Linked DNA regions of Homo sapiens: region 1 is linked to region 2. Evidence: promoter capture Hi-C in 16 types of primary human blood cells and fetal thymus (Javierre and others, 2016). All regions are on one chromosome and are shown on one strand. The core of a region is centred on a gene start or on the middle of the fragment in contact, and the rest is flanking DNA. Distances in the headings are between cores, read along the strand shown.

Region 1 (6,317 bases), core at 3,736-6,235, 680 kb after region 2:
CCTACCTTGTGAAGCCACTTGTGTGTGGACACTAACACCAATGACAGGTTGAGGGATCTTCCTTAAGATACTGACAATGTCTGTAACATTTTTCTCTTTAAAAGATTGTGTTTTTTTGGAACCCAAGTGACCAAAACATAAGCACTGACATTTAGGGGATGAGAGACTTTTTTTCTCATTATAAAAGCCATGCCTCAATGTTTAAGGATCAGAATCATGCGTAAGAGATGTTTATATGAGCTCGCCTTTAAAATCAGAGCCAGGCACTTTTGCTCAGTCCTGACTTTCTTTCCAAGTCTTATCTTCAGGATGTGTGGACCTGCACAATTTGTGGCAATGGAAGCCAAGTTTCTATTGCTGACTTCAGTGGGCGTTGCTGCTTATTTCCATGTCAAAGAATGGGACCTTGTATAATTGTGAATAGACAACAAGGAAGAATTTCCCATAGAGAACACCCTGATAGCGGAATAAAACTAAACTTCTTGAAAGGGCTTTATTCATTGTAGAAGCAATAAAGTCAACACTGAAGGCACTGTCTGCTGTTAATCAACACAAATTTCTTCATTAAAGCCTATGGGAACTGAATCAAATTTCAAATTTTATAAAACCAAGGGTATATAATAACTATTATATTTCTGCACTTATACAAATGTAATTTTTCTTATCCCCAAATCCTGTTTCTCCCCCAAGCTTCCCCATCTTATAAATGGCCACACATCTGCTCAGTTGCTTGAACCCCAATTGTACAAAATCATCCTCGCAAGCTCTACGCTCTCACTCACCAAACCCAATCCGTCTCCATGTCTTGGCAGCCCTACCTCAAAATCCAAAACTATCTCCACCTCTCTTTATCTACAGGGGCCAGAGGAGTCCAAGAGTCCAGCCCACTTTCATTTTTCTTTATCATCTACAACCATAGCCTATTTAATGGTCCCAGCATCCACTTTTGCCTCTTCATCTTCAATTCTCAGCAGCACAGTTGGAATGATCTTTCTAAACTATAAACCTCCAGGGATGACCCAGAGAATAAAACCTGAACCCCATAGCATGGTTTACAAAGCCCTTCCATAATCTTGCCTCTACTTATTCTTCACTCTCTCAGCTTCCTCCCTTCCCACAACTCAATATACTGCAGGCACTCTGGCCTTCTCTCTGTTCTTCCAACTCTCCCAGGCTGCTCCCACTTAGGAGTTCAGATTTGCTTATTTCTCTGTATGGCACCATATTCTTGCACGTCCAGCTCCTTCTTTTCATTTCAGTGTCACAGAGAATATCACTGCCTCAGGCCAGTACACCTTCCTGAGCACCCTGTGAAAATCAGTCCTTTCCCTTCTGGATTTCATAACTCCATTTTACTTGCTTCATACCATTGATCCTATCAGCAATTATCTTGTTCCTTTTTTTTCACTTTTTTACTTATATTCTAGTATTGGAATGTAAAGCCATGAAAACAGAGACTTTGCTATCTCATTTAACATTGTATCACCAGTACTTAGATTAAATCTGGCTCATATTAAATACTTAATAAATACACGTAAAGGAAGGAATGTGTGTGCACATTATCCATCTAATTACATTTGCCTATAATTAAGGTTTTCTCTTATAAGGAAGAATAATTGGCACCTTTTTAGGAAGAATCTCAAATTGGATCATGTGTAAGAGCTTGAGCTCTGATATCAAGCACTATTGGTTGGTGTCTTAGGTGAGGATAACCAGTATCAGATACTGAGAAAGAATTTGTGTGCAAATTGTTCATTAAGAATGGGATCTCCAGGAAACTTATAAGGGACAAAAAGAAGGAAAATAAAGTAGGGAAGAAGCCAAGGATGGGCATGACCTCAAGCAAAAGGTTTGATGAGGAAAAATACAGTCCAATCCCAGTGGGGCATGCTGGAGTGGAAGTTACCCCTCAAAATCATCTCAATCTGAATCAAGCATGCTGGAGTTTCATAATCCAGCCCAGGCAGGCATTGGCTAAGAGCCATCAGGGTGGGTACATGCTCCCAGGCCCTGCTTGTGGGCAATGCAACTCTATTATACCCAGCCCCACCACTCTTCGGCACTCTGACTTGGGGTATGTGGAATAACGTTTCTAAGAATGAATTTATGAGTAATTTTCTCTTGGAAAATTTTGTGCATTAAATGAGATAATGCATATAAGAGAACTTTGAAAATAGCTATTATTTATGATCTGGTTTTTAAAAGCAATTTGAGGGTTAAAAACAACATCTAGGAAATTAGGTTCTTACTTAGGAATAGAAACTCTGGTATATTGTCCAGTCCTATATATACAAAATTGAAAATAGAAGTGGGGAATGTAGGGAGAAACACTGCATAGTAGACTTAGGAAAATAAAAAAGCAACATAGCATCAATACGATGCTCACTTTTGTGAATATACTTGTAAGTTTTCTACGGAGACCTCTTAGGGTCCTGGAATATTGGCAGAAAAGAAAGAAGTTTGGCTTTCTGAACACACAGGAGGTGAGAGGTCCAACAATTTTCAGTTCCTTTAGAATAAGAGAAGTGGGTTCTGCCACAGTGATAACAAATGGATGCAGTCATCTAAAATATTTATGTTTGCACCCAGAGAAACTATAAACAGTTATTGGCGTCAGTTTGGATTCGTCAGCATGTGTTGTCAAAAAATAACTTTGATCTTAGAGAGAAAAGCAGCTGGAGCATCTTCAATCCCAGATGTGATCAGAGCCTGTCTACTGGATAATTTAAGAGAATTCTGCAGTCTGAACCAGCTTCAGAGAAAAGTGAGTGAGATTTACTTGCCATTTTTTCTTCGATGATGGTGAGATCTATTTAATAAGCTTGGGTAAATGCTCAAGTAAATGGTAGAATTTGGATCTGGGAAAAATCAGGCAAAACCACCAACCCCCATGACTGCTAGAGAGACCAGCACACTGAAAGGCAGGGGCCTGAGTCACTCATGGGAGAGCGGAGCTGATACCTTGACACCAGCTCTTCACACAAGAGCACGCACACAAGTGGGGTCGGTGGGAGAGAGATCAGTTCTTTACAGAAGATGAGTGACTGCCAAAGATGCAAATGGTGGCTGCCTAAGATGCCAATATGGCCAGCCACACTCACTGTTTAATAGGGTTGTTGTTAACATGAAATAATGCATGTGAGGCATTTAATACACTGTTTGGCATATAGTAAAAGTCTAACAAATATTGTTATTTTTATTATTCCTATTTTACAGCTGTTGAAGAGTGAGGATTATGAAAGTTTTTTTTAATTCTCAGAGATCAGAAAGTTGATAAGTTGCAAAGCCAGAATTTAACCCCTAGAACTTTTTCACTCAAAAGGTCATGCTCTTACCCATCTTTCTGATGAAGTGGTTTTTAAGTGACCTGTATAAGTCAGATTTCTCCAGAGAAACAGAACCACTAGGAGATAAATCTTAGAGAGAGAGAGATGAAGATAGAGATAGGTGTATAGGTATGAAAGGCATAGCTGTAGATAGATTTATTTTAAGGGATAGGCTCACAAATTGTGGGGGGTGGCAAGTCCAAAATCCGTAGAGCAGGATGGCACCCCAGAAATTCCAGTAAAAGTTGATGGTGCAGCCTTAAGGCTGAAGACAGTCTGGAGGCAGAATTCTTTTCTCTTCGAGGGACCTCTGTCTTTGGTCTCAAGACCTTCAACTGACTGGCTGAGGGCCACTCACATTATAAGGGTAATCTGCTTTACTCAGAGTCTACTGACATCTAAAAATACCTTCACAGAAACATCTAGATTGCTATTTTGACCCAACAACTGGGCACCATAGCCTAGCCATGTCAACACATAAAAATTAACTGTCACATGAGACAACAGATACAAAAGTGATGTGCACAAAGCACCAAGTGCTAGAAAAAAAGAAAATATGTTATTATTACTAAACGATAGGCCTAGTACTACCAGCATACTTTGCCTTGCTTTTCAATTCATTTTATGTTTTTGCTCACATTGGATGGAAAGGCTGAGGGAGCTGGTTAGTCTATTATAAACACGGACTCTAGAAAACCTGAGAAAGAGAATAAAGAGGTCACTGAAATTTTTACAGGCAAAACACAATTTCTGCCAATGCATAAATGTTTGCAAAGTGTTGCAAGATTACTCTATATGTCTTTAATTGCCATTCACACCTGAGGGTGAATAGCTCCTTAAATCACACAAAAAAATGAGTGTCCAAATTTCTATCATGATTCACCATTATTATGTTTATTTTAACTATGCTATTAAAGTTAAATTTGTGAATTTTCCTCCTCCACAATCTTTCAAAACTTCTGTTGGTGACAGGACAAAATAACTAATTGAATTAGACAGCACCATGCAATTAGGGATGCCTAAGCCTCACCATTCCTACATTATTTTCCTGGAATTTGAAACTTTTGAAGGTTTACTCAAACCAAGAAACAAAATAATGATTGTACAAGAAGTCCCAAATATACTTTAATGAGCTGACAAAGAAATTCATATTATCTGTCTGAAATAATAGAAGGTGTTTGAGAGTGGTTTACTGCAGAGTAGGGCTAAACTGCTCATCCTAATACTCCAAAAACAGAGGAAATTTTGCTTTGTTAATTGTTGCAAAAGGTGCCATTTTAAAAAAATTATCACAGAGCTTATGGCATTGGTGAAGTAGAAATAGCAACTGGCTTTCAGAGATACAAGACATGAAGTTGCCTCCGGCAGCCTAATAATTTGAAAGCCCTTTAAGCCACTAGTCCTAAAATAGGTTTAACTATGTGTTTGGAGAAGATTCGGAGCTCTGCCTAAAGAAAGGAGGTCATTGGAGCGCCCTGGCCAATTTAGTTCTGACCCTCTAACTTGCATCCTCATTCAGATGAAAAACAGAAGCCCTGAACTGAACTAGACTCCCTTTCTTAAAAGGCAGCTTAGTTAAACACAAATTGTTACCCCAGTTTTCTCATTAAAACAGTCCCCCAAAATAGCTTAACAAAAATCCTATTCAATCACACACATTATTTTCCTGGCAAGAGTTCAGCTAGATGCTATTTTCTCCATCTAATTCTCTCCCCAAAGCTGTTTTAGCAACGTATATTAGTCAGGGTTTGATCAGAGAAGCAGAACCACTAGAAGATTTATATAATAAGAGATTTATTATAGGTATTTGGTCTTAGATGATTGTGGGCTAAAGAATCTATTGAGCTATAGCTTCTGCAGCTGGGAAAGTCAGCTGGGGCTGGCAGTTGGGCATGGAAGAATGTGAAATGGAAGCAAGCTCAAAAGGAACCCTGCAGGGCTGGGCTGGAACCTGTGAGAATGGATGAGAATCTGCATGGGACTCTCACTGCCTCTGAGCCTTTCACTTGGATGATGGGAGTGAAATGAAGGAGGAGTGGCCCCCTTTGTCACAGAGCTAAACCTACACCTGACCCATGAGTCAGAAAAACTAAGAGGGCTGGAGTTCTACATGCCCACAGGTAAGCCAGCAAAGAAAAGACAACATGCATTAGAGACAACAACATTTCATGGCCTGGCTGACACTGACCTCTTGGACATAAAATAAAAGGAATGTCACTGCTGTTTCACTTCCACCTTTTCACTCTTGTTCAGAGCATCTTTTGTGGTTCACCCATCCTGGCGCTATATATGGAAGGGAATTCTGGGACCATCAGTTCCAGGTTAGCAAAACTGATATACTATGAATCCATCACATACCCCCAGGAAAATGTTTGGCTGGTCCATCTACAGATTCAGCTATCAGTTAAAAAGAAGTTTTGTGACATCAGGATGTAAGAGAGACACAAGAGAATATTAACACTGGAATGACCTCAGAGTCAGCCCATCCCGAATTTTACAAATGAGTGAAAATGAAATCCAGGAAGGTGTGGAAACTTGTCTCAGGTCTCATAGTTGCCCAGAGGTAGTACAAGAAAGCCGTTTGCCTGCCTGCTAAATCATTATCTGTAAATCCAGAGAGATACATGAAGAAGCAGAAATTCCCAGATAAGCCTACCCCTGGTCAGACACACTCAGGGTCCTTGAAGCTGCATTTAGGAACATGTGAATATGTAATAAACGTGTGGCCTCAATTGCCTCATTTAAAATAAATTCTCAGTAATAATATTCTCAGTAGAAATTAAAATTGTTTTTTAAATTTTTTCTCAATTATTTTAATTTGTGGTGCCCTTATGTAAAAAGGTAGCCTAAATACAATTAAGGTTTAGGTTAAATTAAATTTGATATTCTAAATCTTAGCCATAAAAAAGAGGTATTTTACATAACATTAGGAACATAGTTCTTGGATTCATATAGCCCAAACTTCAAATATGAGCCCAACCACTTGCGAGC
Region 2 (6,555 bases), core at 329-2,828:
AGGAAGAGGAAAAACAAGAACACAATACAGTGAAGAAGCTATGTAAGATTTGGAGGGCATGTTCCAAAACCCAAGTCCTTTTCTAGTTCAGGCGATCTGGTTTCTCATGTATCTACTGTAGAGTGATGTCCTCATGGAGGCCTCTCAGAGCAAGAAGAAACCTTCAAGATCATCTAGTCTTGCCACTCATTTTATGGATGAGGAAAGAGGTGTGCAACTGTGAAGTGATGTCCCCAAGGTCCCCTGGCCATTTTTCCCAATGTTCAGTCATTTTGCGAGAACCTCCTTAGAGTTTCCTACTCCAGCAGCTTAGACTTAAAAAGAGAAAAAGTGTACTTTATGTTTTCCAACAGGTTAGCTGATCAAATTGGGAAGGGCATTAAGATTCCTTGACACTCAAGCATAATAAAATCATCAGTAGCTTAGAGAAAAAAGTAAAAGCCCTCCTGTCCAGAAAGGAAGGGACAATCTTCAACTACAATGTTGTATCATGTGAAAAATTGATCCCCGACTGATTACGTTTTAGAAGCCTGGATTGGCTAGTTGCCTGCATTTTATTTTACTTGCAGCCAGAAAAGGGTTACATAGTTATCCCAGGAGACTAGCAGCTGCTTTGGTTCAAATGGGACAATTACAGGTGTGAAAACAAACCTGCTGGGTTTTCCCCAACTGCAGTTTGGGAAACTGTGAGCGTGTGAGTAAACCCGAGCTTCCATCAGCCCCAAGTGGCCCCCTAGAAGTGTCCGAAGGAAATGACTTCACTGGCCCTTAACTCTGCGTGGCTCCCCCTTTGCTTAGATTCTTGTCTAGGAAGCCAAGTGAGGAATGCCTTTCACCCCCAGGGCAGGTTTCCTTTCTGGCTCTGGCGCTCCCCAAAGCCCCAAGTGCTCCCCAAACCATGCCTGACACACAGTAAGTGCTCTATACATGTCATTTATTGCATTATTATTATTTGCTTATCGCCCTCTGGGAAGGGGAATACAAAAGAGAAGGGAGGAAGCAGCTTCACTTAGCTGCAGGAGAAGAGGTCAAACAGCAGAGGGAGCAGGATTACCCGTGCAGATGCCAGTCTGGTTGCTGGGGTCCGCGCTGCGATCACAGTAGAGGCCACTGCTCTCGTCGCATGGCTCCAGATCTGAGCAGCTCTCGCCACGCTGGCGGGCACACACCAGACAGCATGAGCAGCCGTCCAGCACCGCGCGCACCCCGGGGGCGCAGGTCGGCGGCGTCGCAGGGCACCGGCCCGGGCACTGGGGAGGGCAGCGCTGAGTCGCAGCGACCTGAAGGCAGGCGAGACAAGGAGAAACCACTCAGCTGGGACAGAAGACGCAGTGAGCCCGGTGACCAAATGGGGGCCACCAAGGCGGGCAAAGTAACTTGGGGGCATCTTAAGGGTGTGCCACTTACCTGTCCCAGGAGATGGAGAAGCAGGAAGGTCAGGCAAAGGCACTGCTTTCGGAGACAAAAGCTCGTGCTCTGCACACTCTGCATGCTCAGGCTTTCCCCTCTCGCTTTTACCAAACGAGACTTTCTTCGCTGTAGATTGGCACTGCTCGCCTTCCCCCTGGTCCGGTGCTTGCCGATCACGCCCAGCACAGGTTTTATAGCGCGCTCCTGGGACGCGCACAAGCCGGTTGGCTGCAGTGCAGGGAGGAGGGGGGAGATCGGCTGGGTGGGGAAGTGGAACGAACCCCGGGGTTGCCATGGCAATTGGCTGTGGGTGCTGCTCTCCTTAGGGCGCGGCGCCGGGGCCTGCGTGTGCCTGTGTGTGGCGACTGGCTTTTCCCAGAGGGTGGGGAGGGGCTGGGTGGAGTTCCGAGGCCAGGACCCAGGGCTCGCTCGAGCGCGTGGGAAGGAAACGCCCGTTTCCTCCTGGAAGTTGCTTCGCCTTCTCCCAGGACGAAGACACCACCACTCCCCACCATCCTCCTCCACCCTGACCGTTCCAACCAGGGCTGCAAGCGTGGGGTCCCCTTACGGGATGCCTGCAGTTTGGGGCCATCTGCAGGGGATTGGCAGAAGGCCCAGGGGTTTAGTCATGAGGGAAGCACATGCAAGTTTGTCACCGTTTAGGGCACTCATTGAATGTGTTGAGAGGGAGGGGAGAGAAGCAAGGGAGGAAAGGAGAGAAAGAGGAGAAAGAGAAAAGTGTGTGTGTGTTGGGGGGAGGGGAGTGGCAGGGGGAAGGGAATCTAGAAAAAAAATCGATATGTCAGGAGGTGGGGAATGCTATTGGCCAAATGGCAAAATTCTTTTGACTCTAATCCTTCTAGCTTCACTCAGTCTTAAACCCCAAGGTCCACAGGTTTGTTAGAAATAAAAGTAAAACACACACACACACACACACACACACACACACACACACACATAAAGAAAACATCATAAAATAAAACAAAGAAATCTTGGCAGAAGAAAGCCTTGAAGCACCTGCTGTAGCAGACCAAATGTGAGACGGCACACCTGAGAGTCCAGAAACCTTTGACAGTTTTCTAAGTGGGTTCAGTTCAACCACCATCACCACCATCAAAACCTCCAGCCAGGGAAGAAATGAGGAAGAAACTGGCTTAACTTGGCTGACCCTTCAGCAAATCAAATCCTTCTCTCACCGGGCATCCGCTTTCAAGAAATGATTGCTGGGGCATGCTTGTCATCTCTCATGGGAAAAAGGGAGCAGTTTTACTGCTCCAAAGGTGACATTGTTTGAAGGATTTAGAACAGTTTCCCCCCACACTTCAACACTGGTGCTGCCCCTAGGAGAACTATGCCCAGCTCTTTTGAGGATAGTTGCTTTGGAAAAAAACAAAAAACACTTTTTAAGGAAAATTATACAGGCCTGTGATGTAATTCTAGAGTTTAAAAAGAAACAAATGGCCTCTACCTCATCTGTCCCCAGCATGAAGGAAATCAAAGGCAGCTTGCGGAAGGGGCCAGGTCTGCCTCTGCAACACCCGCAGATGATGAGGTCACCTCAAGCCCCTTCTAGATAATTCTCTCGGCAGCCTGAAACCACTATGACACACTTCCAAGCCTCTAATAGTTCTGCTTTCTTTGAGGTAAATGAGACTGAGTAGTACTCAAACTTAACTAGAGATGAAACAGTTCATTTGCACTCTTGAGTAGGACATTTACCTACTCTTCAAATTGATAGGCTTTGGAGGGTGGAGGGTGGGAGCAGGGAGAAGATCGGGAAAAATAACTAATGGGTACCAGGCTTAATACCTGGGCGATGAAATAATCTGCACAACAAATGTCCATGACACACATTTACCTGTGTAAACAAACCTGCACATTTACCCCTGAACTTGAAATAAAAGTTTAAGAAAAAGATAAAACAAAAAACAAAAAAACTGATAGGTTTTGTAAGCCATTTGGCCTAATGATGCCTCCATCTGGCTGCAGATCGAATCAACCAGCATGTATTTTGTTAAAAATACAGATTCCTGAGCCCCACTCTTGACCCACTCAGTAGGATTCTCTGGTGGTGGCTCTTGGTAGACAGCATTTTAATGTACTTTGAAATGGAGCAACTAGAAGCACTGCTAATGGGGAGGCAAAGAGCATCGGCCAAGTGTTCCAAGCATGAATAGACTCAGATAGAACAAGGAGAAATTGGCAACATGGAGATTGGGCTAGCTCTTCTTGGAAAGAGTGGGGTGGGAGTGGTGACAGGGAAAATGTAACTTTAAGACAAGGATTAACATGTCAAGAAGTCACTGCAAGTGTAAAATTGCTATTCAGTTTTGATTGCAAGAGATGGAAACCAAACTTGAACTAGTTTTTGCGAAAAGAGGACTTTACTGGAAGGATGCTGTGATGTTTCACATAGTGACAGCACAGGAATGGTACAGGGAGTCCTCAGAGGCAATTGGGATCTAGAGAGAGGAGGGCCAACAGGATTACTTCCACATAAGGGAAAAATGATCCTTCCAATCTTCTTACTTTATGACCTTATCACCACAGAAGGAATGTCCCTGTCTCTTAGGCCCAACTTTAAAAGTTCCAGGAATTAAATTGGATGGGTTCACCCTGGACTAATCAATGGGGACAAGGAAGGTGAAGTATGGGGATTAGTTAGAACCTCATGGTTGGAATGGAGAGAAAGAGCAGTTCTCTTGGGAAGAAAGGACTGTTCCTTAAAAAGAAAGCAAGCTTGGTGAGCAAAACAATACACATCCACTCCATCATCTGCTATAAATGCTCTAGGATGAGGATCTTCATCTTAAAACAATTGTAAATTGAAAGTGATACCATCTGATGATAATCATGTCATGTCATGCTTCACTGCCTCCAGGACATAGTCTCTGAAATCCTTCATGCCGGGATAGATGTTATCCGCAGTGCAGGCCTGGGATGCCGAGCTTATCTCTTTTATCTCATAACTCACTGGATAATCATTATAGTCACACCATTTAATGATGGGGATATTGTTGGAGAAATGTGTCCTTGGGTGATTTCATTGTTGTGTGAACATCATAGAGTGTAGTTACACAGATGCGGATGGTGTAGCCTACTACACACCTAGGCTGTATGATATAGTCTATTACTCCTAGGCTACAAACGTACAAACAGTACAGAATATACTGCACTGAATACTGTAGGCAACTGTAATACAATGGTAAGTATTTGTGATTTAAACATATCTAAACTTAGAAAAGGTGCAGTAAAAATATGGTATAAAAGATAAAAAATTGTCCACCTGTGTAGGGCACTTACCGTGAATGGAGCTTGCAGTGGGTGTCAGTGAGTCAGTGGTGGGTGAATGTTAAGGCCTTGGACATAACTGCACACTACTATAGCCTTTATAAACACTACACTTAGGCTAAGCTAAATTTATTCAAAAATTTCCTTTTTCAATGATAAATTAACTTTAGCTTACTGTAACTTTTTTACTGTATAAACTTTTAATTTTTTTAACTTTTCGACCCTTTTGTAATAACACCTACCTTAAAACACAGATACATTGTACAGATGTACAAAAATATTTTCTTTATATCCTTATTCTACAGGCTTTTTTTTTTTTTTTTTTTTTTTGAGATGGAGTCCCTCTCTGTCACCAGGCTGGAGTACAGTGGTGCAATCTTGGCTCACTGCAACCTCTGCCTCCCTGGTTCAAGCAATTCTCCTGCCTCAGCCTCCCAAGTAGCTGGGACTATAGGCACACACAACCACGCCCAGCTAATTTTTTGTATTTTTAGTAGAGACAGTGTTTCACCATATTGGCCAGGGTGGTCTCAATCTCTTCACCTCGTGATCCACCTGCCTCGGCCTCCCAAAGTGCTGGGATTACAGGCATGAGCCACTGTGCCTGGCCTCTATAAGCTTTTTTCTAGTTTTAATATTTTTATTTTTTTTTTTTTTGTGAAAAATAACACACAAACATACATATTAGCCTAGGTCTACACAAGGTCAGGATCATCAGTGTCACTGTCTTCCACTCCACATCCTGTCCCACTGGAAGGTTGTCAGGGGTAATAACACACATGGAGCTGTCATCTCCTCAGATAACAATGTCTTCTTCTGAAATACTTTCTGAAGGATCTGCCTGAGACTGTTTTATAGTTAACTTTTTTTTATGAGTAGAAGTATGCTCTAAAATAATGATGAAAAGTATAGTAAATACATAAACCAGTGACATAGTCACTTATTATCATCATCAAACATGGACTATACATAATTATATGTGCTATACTTTTATATGCCTGAAAGTGCAGTAAGTTTGCTTACACTAGCATTACCATAGACACATGAGTGTGCTACAATGTCATGACAGCTACTATGTCACTAGGCTATAGGAATTTTTCAGCTCCATTACAGTCTTATGGGACCACCATTGTACATGCCGTCCGTAGGTGACCAAAATATTGTTATGTAAGATGTGACTGTACTTGTCTGTTTTGGTGACTGCCTCCCTGTCCTGCCTGGGAGTCCTTGAGGACACAGAGCATGTCGTATTTACAGTAACATCCCCAACATCCACCTCAGGGTCAGGCAAGTGGTCAGTTCTTGGACCTTTTGAGATACTGCAAACTCCACTTTAAGTTTTGCCACTTTTCATTGCTCTGCATAAGATGAGATAAGAAACAAACTGGAGGCTGTTTGCTCTTCAGCAGCAGCTAAATTGGTCCTATCAGCCACCACCCATCAGCCTGTGACATGAAACTTCTCTGGGTCTTGCTTGGCACTAAAAGGATGGAATACAGGCTGGTGATCTTCTCCTGTTTGAAATAATCCATGTGGCAGTTGAGGTCTCTGGGAGAAGTCAGGGGATACCTTATTAGAGATTCTTTTTTGAATTGCTGGGCTTGGCAGCTAACCATGGGGTTATGAACTGCAAGGACTTTGGCCAATTTACTTTTCCCCCTTTAATTTTGTCCTCTCCTTTCATCCCCTCATCACAGATGTGACATCAGGGGCTCATTTTTGCCTTTTCTTTTTCACATAGCCTGTTAATTGATTTATATTCTTATTACTTCTCAGTCAGTACTCTTATCCAGAACACACTTAGAGAATTGCCTACATTTTCTAAAGGTACTATGTTGTTTTCAGTGCTATTGT

What was found. Contacts are between HindIII fragments. The CHiCAGO score rates a contact against its expected background, and 5 or more counts as called.
Region 1: a fragment that was not itself captured here is called in contact with the fragment with the promoter of CCN3 in region 2 in 1 of 17 cell types (endothelial precursors); the score reaches 5.9 in endothelial precursors.

Annotation. Positions count from the first base shown.
Region 1 is chr8:118,737,154-118,743,470 of GRCh38, reverse strand. No RefSeq gene overlaps it. Among named protein-coding and RNA genes, the nearest start is that of SAMD12, 120 kb to the right of the region's middle. RefSeq lists an enhancer at 5,055-5,568. The HindIII fragment of the contact is 4,323 bases long and covers 2,824-6,317 here.
Region 2 is chr8:119,411,469-119,418,023 of GRCh38, reverse strand. It overlaps CCN3 (cellular communication network factor 3), which reads right to left and starts at 1,578. Exons shown (of 5, transcript NM_002514.4): 1 at 1,408-1,578; 2 at 1,055-1,280. The coding sequence starts at 1,491. It overlaps LOC124902009 (a long non-coding RNA gene), which reads left to right and starts at 1,715. Exons shown (of 2, transcript XR_007061077.1): 1 at 1,715-3,053. The HindIII fragment of the contact is 11,014 bases long and covers 1-4,151 here.